2 separate regions of the Homo sapiens genome follow, and region 1 is linked to region 2. Evidence: promoter capture Hi-C in 16 types of primary human blood cells and fetal thymus (Javierre and others, 2016). All regions are on one chromosome and are shown on one strand. Each heading gives the region's core, a stretch centred on a gene start or on the middle of the fragment in contact. The rest is flanking DNA. Distances are from core to core; before and after follow the strand shown.

Region 1 (4,200 bases), core at 597-3,096, 9.0 Mb after region 2:
CAGCCACCGCGCCAAGCCAGGCCATCTTTTCTTAAAGACACACAATTCTACTAGCAAGACTCTAACTCCGATCCTGAAACGTTTTATGTCTGATTTTAGTTCATCCAGACATAACGCTACCTGATACCATTACAGATAAAAAAAATTTTGAGGCCGGGCACGGTGGCTCATGCCTGTAATCCCAACACTTTGGGAGGCAGAGGCGGGTGGATCACCTGAGATCAGGAGTTCCAGACCAGCCTGGCCAACATGGTGAAACCCCGTCTCTACTAAAAATACAAAAATTAGCCGGGCGTGGTAGCAGGAGCCTGTAATCCCAGCTACTCAGGAGGCTGAGGCAGGAGAATCGGCTGAACCCGGGAGGCGGAGATTGTAGTGAGCCGAAATCGCGCCACTGCACTCCAGCCTGGGGTACAAAGCGAGACTTCGTCTCAAAAAAATAATTTTTTTTTTGAATTACTGCTTAACATACCCTACAATCTCAGCGAGCCTGTTGGTATTCCCATAAATAAAAAAATGCCACTCAAGGTGGAAACTGCCCTCACAACTCCCAATCTCGGATTGTAATCTACAAAAGCGCGTGAAACTGTAAAAATAAACTTTATTCACATAGAAGAATCACGTTACGTTTTGATTTCCAAACCCTTACCAAGCCTAACTGCGGGACGCAAGACTGGGCTCCCCGAGGGGACTCACTCCTGGTTAAGGCCTCCCACAGCCCACGGCGCGCTTCCAAGTCTACTCCTCAGCCGCAACGCAAACCCGGGCTGTGGCTCCGCACCCACAGGCTCGCCCCGGCCCCAGCCCCTGCCGCCCTCCACCTCCAGCTCCTCGCGGGCCCCGAGGCAGCCGCGAAGCTCCGGCCCCGCGCCCCCCAGCCCGCCTCCTGCCCCAGCTCCCGTCCAAGGTCGCTCCTGGCGGCGGGTGACCGCTGCAGACCAACGCCCAGAACTCGACAGCCCCCCATCCTTTACTCATTTTTTTGAAATATTTCTTTCTCTGCACCCGCATCCAGCCCCGAACCCTCCAGAACCAGGAGAGTTCCCCGCAAGGACCTCGCGCAGGAACGCCCGGGACCGCCCACCGAAGTCCCAGGCTCCCCAGGCAGCAGGGCAGGAGAACACCACCCCCGGCCCGGAAGCACTCGCCCCTCCCGGGCCAAGAAGGATAAGGGAGGGGGAGGGCGGAGAGAAAGGAGGGGGAGGGGACAGAGAGGAGGGGGAGGGGACAGAGAGGAGGGGGAGGGAAAGGAAGAATGGGGGAAGGGGGGAGAGGGGAAGGATAGGAAGATGAGGAGATAAGGGAAGGGAGAGAGTTGAGGGGGGAAGGAAAGGAGGGGGAAGGGGTAAAGAGAAGAGAGGGCAGAAGGAGAGAGGAAGAGGAAGGACAGGGAAAGGCAACGGGGGAAGGGAAGAGGGCAGGAAAAGGGCCCCTCCGCCGGCCGGCCTCAGGAGCGGCAGAAGGCCCCGAGCCCGCCGCGCGGTGGGCTGCCGGGCGCACCTTGCGCTTGCGGGCCTCAGCCGTGCCGCTCCACACGAAGCACTGGTAGATGGCCCGCAGGTTCTGCTTCCAGTTGTCCACCTTGAAGCTGCCCAGGTGCGAGCAGCCCGGCGGCGCTACCGCCAGCTCGGCGTCCATGGCCTCGCCCTCGGGCTCTGGCCGGGACACCATGGGGGGCAAGGCCCGGCCGCGCGCGGGGGGCGGCGGCGAGGGAGGCGAGGACGACGCCAGCGCGGCGTGGGGGCTGCTCGGCGGCTGGCCAGGCTGGCCAAGGCCCGGGCGCCGAGAACAAAGCGCGGAGGCCGGACAAAGATGGGGCTGCGCGATCGCCGAGGGGAGGCTGCAAGGCAGGCACCGCCCCCGAGCTGCGGCTGCTGCGGACCGCCTGCGCTGCGCTCTCGCGGTTCGCGGAGGGTGTCGCGGGGCGGGGCGCCGCGGCCGCGGACGGAGATTACGTCACCCCCCCCCCCCCTCCCGGCCGGCACCGCACTGCGCAGTCTCCAGCCCGCGCCAGGCCCTTCCCCCACACTCGCGCGCCCGTTAGGCTCTGGGTAGACCCGCGCCCGAGGAAGCGTGGTAGGGGGGGGAAGCTAACGAGGGCCCGCCCCTCCCCTTCCTTTATTGGTAGTAGGCCACCCCCCCCCCCCCCCCGGCACCTTCGGCTATTGTCATAGGCTCTCAGTATAGTCCGTCTGGTACAGAGCCGCCTCCCGGGACCCTGGCGGCTAGACGTTCCCTGTCTCTTCCAGAGGACTGGGGAGGCGGGGGCGTGCTGCGGTTGGGCGGCGCGAGACGTCAGTCCTAGCACTGAACCGGTTTGCGCCGGCCTGAGCTCTGCCGCAAAGAGGCGGGGCGATGAGCTGGAGCGCCGCAGGTCGGGCCTCCATCCAGGGCCTGCGCTTTCCCACCCAAAAGCACCCCCTAATCGGGAGCTGTTTGCAGGGCCCCCGGTTGCCGTAACCTGGCTCGGGCCCTGCAGTGCCGTGGCCCGGGGCTGGAACTGCCTGCCAACTGCCTGGTAGGCGCTGCCCCCGGCCGCAAGCTGGGGCGCCTCCTGTCGGGAGCCCGCTGATAGTGAGGGCCAACCCGGCGCCATCCAGTTTAAAGAGGCATCTGCGCGCCACACGCCTGACACTTCACATTTGCTAGTGGCTACATTTTTCTAATGAAAAAAGAAAGTTACAGTAATATATCTCAACCCAATAAAGTCAAATTATTTCAGCATGTAGGCAGTATTGCAAAATCGTTAGTGGAATGTTTTACAGTTTTTGCAGCAAGTCTTGGAAATCTGGTATTTACACTTAAAGCACATCCAATTCCTACTAGCTGCTACCGCAGTGGGCGGCACAGGTCTAATCGGTATACAAATAACTGACCCAAGGCAAACTGAGAAGACATTTAAAGACGAATGCAAACGAAGTTCTGGGGGAACCAGGGCGCCAAGGGTCTGGGGGAACTTGGATAAGGTGTCAGGTGTGGAGCTGCTCCCCTGTACTCATCCCGCTGCTAACTGCTTTGCTCATTCATTCATCCACAGATTGCAGGAAACAGCAATTGCCGTCCAGAACCATCACAAGTTAAAAAATAAAGATTGTGATCTCACAACACTTAAAGCTACAGGGTTTAATGGACTGACGACTGGGATAAAGCTTTTGTGGCCAAGACAAATTGCCGAGCACAGGTTTTTGCCTCATGGCCTTCGTGCTTGCAGTACCCTCTCCCTAAAATGCTTTCCCTACCCCCTCACCCTCTGCATCCTTATATTCCATGTCTGATGCTCGCTCACCTCCTTCCAGCTTTATCACACACCTCCTTTTCCGTGAAAAGGAAAATTGCCACCCTAATGAAAATTGCAAGCCCCCCAAAATTCTCCATTCCCTTACCCTGCTTTGTTTTTCTCCAAAGAATTTATCACTATCTGGCGTAATGAATATTTACTTATTTTTTTTATTGTCTCTTCCCTTAATAGCATGAAAAATTACGAGAGGGTAATCTTTTTTTTTTATTTTTTATTTTTGAGACAGAGTCTCGCTCTGTTGCCCAAGGCTGGAGTACAGTGGTGCAATTTCGGCTCACTGAAACCTCCGCCTCCCAGATTCAAGCGATTCTCCTGCCTCAGCCTCCCCAGTAGCTGATATTACAGGCGCCTGCCACCACGCCGCTAATTTTTGTATTTTTAGTAGAGAGGGGCTTTCACCATGTTGATCTGGAACTTTTACTAGAAATGGGGTTTCGTCAGGCTGGTTTTGAACTTCTGACAGCAAGTGGTCCACCAGCCTCGGCCTCCCACAGTGCTGGGCTTATAGGCGTGAGCCACTGCGCCTGGCCTCCAAGAGGGTAATGATATTGTGTGTTTTATGTACTACTACAGCCGCAAGTTCCCAGAACTGTATTGGCTACATGCAGGTACTCGGAATTACCCGGTGAAGCCCTATAGTAGTCCCAGCTACTCCAGAGGCTACGGCAAGAGGATCGCAGAGCCCAGGAGGTCAAGGCTGCAGTGAGCTGTGATTGTGCCACTACACTCTAGCCTGGGCAACAAAGCAAGACCCCATCTCTAAACAAAACAAAACCCTGCCGAATTAATTAACCCGAAACACATTTACAGAAAAATCTAACGAGACCATTTCTAGAATAAAACACTTGTTAAGGAAAACCATGTTTATGTTAGAGGAAAGAATGTCAGCTTACAAAAAACTA
Region 2 (4,171 bases), core at 185-2,684:
GCAATTAAAGTAGAAATCAATAACAATAACTAGAAAATCCCAATTTATGGAAATTACTAAATAATGCTCTTAACCCATAGTCAAAGAAAAAAATCACAAAGGAAATTAAAATATGTTTTCATACTGAGTGACAATGACAGCATTATCAAACCACCTGAAAAGCAGCTTTAGCTCAGAGGTAAACCTACAGTTTCAAATAACATCTTAAAAAACGAATAAATATATTTTTAAAAATACCTTGCTTTGTAAATCCAACCTATTTGGCTCAAGAGTTTCAAATAACAAGCGGCAAGATTTTAGATAGCAAGATACCGACCTGTAAACTTACTGCAATTTATCTGTTTCCTAAATTAAGATAGCAGTTTAGATAATATTTAAGAGAAATGACATTTTGGAAAAACTACAGATTTTATAAAATACTTAAATCTTTTGTTAGTAATATTATACTCCCAGGTAGTGTGTAAGAAAAATGTCTCGATTATTCAAAATTAAATTACTTTATATAGTATTAAAAATTTAATAGAGTTTATATTCCGATAACCTCATGAGGAACTGCCCCCATTAGTTATGAAAAAAAAATAAGGTTGTCTGTTATACCTGTTATTAAACCTTTAACAAATAGAATGAATTTTTAAAAGTGCATTCTAGGTGTAATATACACAAGTGGTTACATACATGGTTACATATATAAGTAACCATTTGTTAAGCACCTACTACGTATCGGCTCATTATTAAGCTCGGTTCATGTATTTCCAATTCCCACAATTACCCTGGTGTACAGATCAGGAACCTCCGAGGCTCACAAGTGGCAGCCAGATTAACCCAGGAAGCTCTAAAGCCTTTGCTTTGGGGAGAACTGCCAACGTCTGGTGATTTGTTGGGGCGTTTTCTGGTTGTCACAAGCAGCTAGGGGAACTGGCATTTAGTGCTCGAGGCCAGGGCAGCGCTGCTCATTGGATATGTATTCTCCACCATGCGCCCCCCAAATGCCGACTGCACTCTGATGAGAGAGGGAGAGACTCCAGGCATCATCCCATCGGGTTTCCTCTTCCAGAGACTCATTTTCAGCCCTTAGGGGAAGACAGCGGGGAGGAGCCCGTTTTCGGTCCCAGTGCAGAGACCCGGCCGGTCCCGCGGGGCGCAGAGGCGCAGGAATGCAGAGCCGGGACGGGGTTCACACATCCCCCCGCACCCACGGTCCACTCCCAGCCATGGCTGCCCCGGCCCCGCACTCGCCACGTCCCCCGCGCGCTCCCAGACGCATGGGCAAGGGAGCCCGCTGGCCCCTCCGTAGCTCCGGGGTGCCCAGCTGAGTCAGGTGCGGACGCAGATAGCGCAAGGCCTGACCCCGAGCGGCCGGAGGCCGGGACCGCCCCGCAAGCGCGCTCACCTCGGCCCGCGGCGCCGGCTCCGGGCGCACTTCCGGGAGCTGGGTGGCTGCGCGCGCCTCAGGCGGCAGGCGAACGACGTGCGGCACCGGGCGGAGCTAGGGGGCGGGGGCGGAGCTGATACCGAAGCTCCTATTGGCCGTCGGGGACGCCCCGCCTCTCTCTGGCGTTGCAGCCCAGGAGCCTCCACCGACATGGCAGCGAGGTTCCCGAGCCAACGCCATCCTCCGTTCCTTCCGTCACTCACTCACTAATCACTGTTCCTGAGTTCCTTCACTTCTCACCCGTCATTTATTGCGCACCTATTCTGTGCCAGGCACTCGGCCAAGCACTGCGAGGCCTTCAAAGATCATTTCTTTGTCTCTCCCAAACCCTTCCGCCCAGTCCCACCCGCAGAGCTGCAACGCTCTGCCATTATCCCTGATTCTTAACCGCCGCCTTTCTCCTTTCCGTTCTTGCCTCACTGGGCCTCCCTGAGACACTTGATTTGCCCCAACCTTCTTCCTCTGTCTTGGTTCTCCCACTCTCATCAGCTCTGCATCCCCTGGGTCCTCTCCCACTTCTCCCCATTCCGTTGGGGCTAGTCCAATGTGGTGCCATCCTCTTTCCACCTGCGTCTCTCTCTCTTCTCTCTCTCTCTCTCAACAAATGTCATCCCTGACTCTTCCCTTCTCCTTCCCTTTCCCACACGCCAACAATGGCTGAATCCTCTGATTTGACCTCATTGTCTCTCAGACACCTCACCCTCTCTCCCTTCTCACTATCCCTCCCTCGGCTCAGTTCCACACCATTTGTAATGGTCAAGACCTTCTTACCCTTTCCCCAGCGTCCAGTGTTGCCGGTTTCCAGGCCATCCTGTGCTGGGCCACGACATCAACTTGTGATACTAAGTTGCATTAATGGAAGTATCATGTCAAAGTTTGGGTGTTCCACCTTGGGCAACTGGCAAAGAGGAGGGTATTCAAAAAAAGCTGCCATGTTCCCCAATAACCTATGGAAATAAAATAAATAAAAAATAAAAATTTAAAGAAGAGCTGTCATTATCATAACATGTCCTGTACCTGTCATTATCATAACATGTCCTGTACCTGTCATTATCATAACATGTCCTGTACCTGTCATTATCATAACATGTCCTGTACCTGTCATTATCATAACATGTCCTGTACCTGTCATTATCATAACATGTCCTGTACCTGTCCCATGTTTACAAGAATTAAAGATCCTCCTCTGGAGAAATAAAGCTTGATGCGGGGATGGGATTACATCTTCATGTACCTGAAAAGTGACCAGCGGAAAAGGGATTCGACATGTTCTCTTAAGTCCCAGGGTCTGAACAAGATCCTATGTGTGAAACTACTGTTTCAGCCTGACATAGGTGGAAGTTTCTAGTCTTTTTTTTTTTTTTTTTTTTTTTTTGTATTTTTGGTGGAGACGGGGTTTCACCATGTTGGCCAGGCTGGTCTCGAACTCGTGACCTCAAGTGATCCACCCACCTTGGCCTCCCAAAGTGCTGGGATTACAGGCATGAGCCATGGCACCTAGCTGGACGTTTCTAACATTCATGTGATTGATGGCGCTGCTTTGAGTTCCTGAGGACAGCATGGCTAACAATTTACCAGGCACATTTAGAGGGACACCTTCATTGGGTATTGCTTCCAACATCAATGTGCTCTGCTTCTAAGAAAGTCAAGAGATAAGGTGGTTTAGAGGGGAAGATTATAGGAGTTTTATCTTCAATGTGTTCGCTTTTAGCTGATCAACACCCAAGGAAGATAACAGTAATTCAAAACCATTAATTGGGTTCTGACTCCTTTGTGAATCTGATGGAAGGTAAAATTTTTCCCAAGAAAAATGCACATACACATCTACATACAACACTTTGCACTCAAATCCAGGGAGCTAACACAGCCTTGAAACCCATCCTTGGAACCCACAAACCTCAGTTTGAGAACTCTAATCCTGGTAGATGGTTCCTGATATGAAAATGACACTTTGAAGTTTAATAATTTCTTTATAAACTGGCACCTTAGGAAAAGGCATAAACACTTATTTCGAAACAGGCTGAACAATCAAAATATTTTTTAAAATAGGGAGATATCTACCTCAGCTTAGGAAATAATGAAAAGGTGTCATCTATTTCTATTATTCACTTACTCATTCAATAAATATTTACCAGATGATGTGCCCAGCACTCTTCCAATAGCTATATATGCAAGAATGAACTAAACACACAAAGTCCCAGCCCTCCCAAGACTTATATTTTGTAGGGTGAGCTGGACAATAAATAAGTGCACAAGTGGTAATTATAGGTGTTGTGAAGAAAATTACATTGGGGTAAGGAGGAGAGGTACTGTTAGAGATGGAGTGCAAGTTATATAGGATGGTCAGGGAAGGACTAACAGATAAAACAGGCTTGAATCCAGACCGGAAGTTAATTAAGACGCAAGCCTTGCGTGTATCTGTGGGAACCTCCAGGCAGAGGAAATTGCAAAAGTTTTTGTTGTTGTTGTTGTTTGAGACAGAATCTTGCTCTGTTGCCCAATGTAGTGCCAGAATCTCAGCTCACTGCAACCTCCGACTCCAGGTTTAAGTGATTCTCCTGCCTCAGCCTCCTGAGTAGCTGGGATTACACATGCTTGCCACCGTGCCCAGCTACTTTTTGTATTTTTAGCAGAGATGAAGTTTCATCATGTTGGCCAGGCTGGTCTCAAATTCCTGACCTCAGGTGATCCACCCACCTCAGTCTCCCAAAGTGCTGGAATTACAGGTGCGAGCCACCA

What was found. The method cuts DNA at HindIII sites, captures the fragments that hold promoters and counts their contacts. A CHiCAGO score of 5 or more calls a contact.
Region 1: a contact is called between the fragment with the promoter of USP22 here and the fragment with the promoter of ZNF18 in region 2, in 1 of 17 cell types (total CD8 T cells). The highest score is 8.8, in total CD8 T cells.

Annotation. Positions count from the first base shown.
Region 1 is chr17:21,041,165-21,045,364 of GRCh38, forward strand. It overlaps USP22 (ubiquitin specific peptidase 22), which reads right to left and starts at 1,847. Exons shown (of 13, transcript NM_015276.2): 1 at 1,501-1,847. The coding sequence starts at 1,671. RefSeq lists a silencer at 1,533-2,132 and enhancers at 1,668-2,617, 2,618-3,565. The HindIII fragment of the contact is 4,087 bases long and covers 1-3,147 here.
Region 2 is chr17:11,996,041-12,000,211 of GRCh38, forward strand. ZNF18 (zinc finger protein 18) reads right to left here and starts at 1,435. Exons shown (of 7, transcript NM_001303281.2): 1 at 1,391-1,435. RefSeq lists a silencer at 1,134-1,583 and enhancers at 1,516-2,499, 1,614-1,853, 1,924-2,003. The HindIII fragment of the contact is 4,230 bases long and covers 1-2,630 here.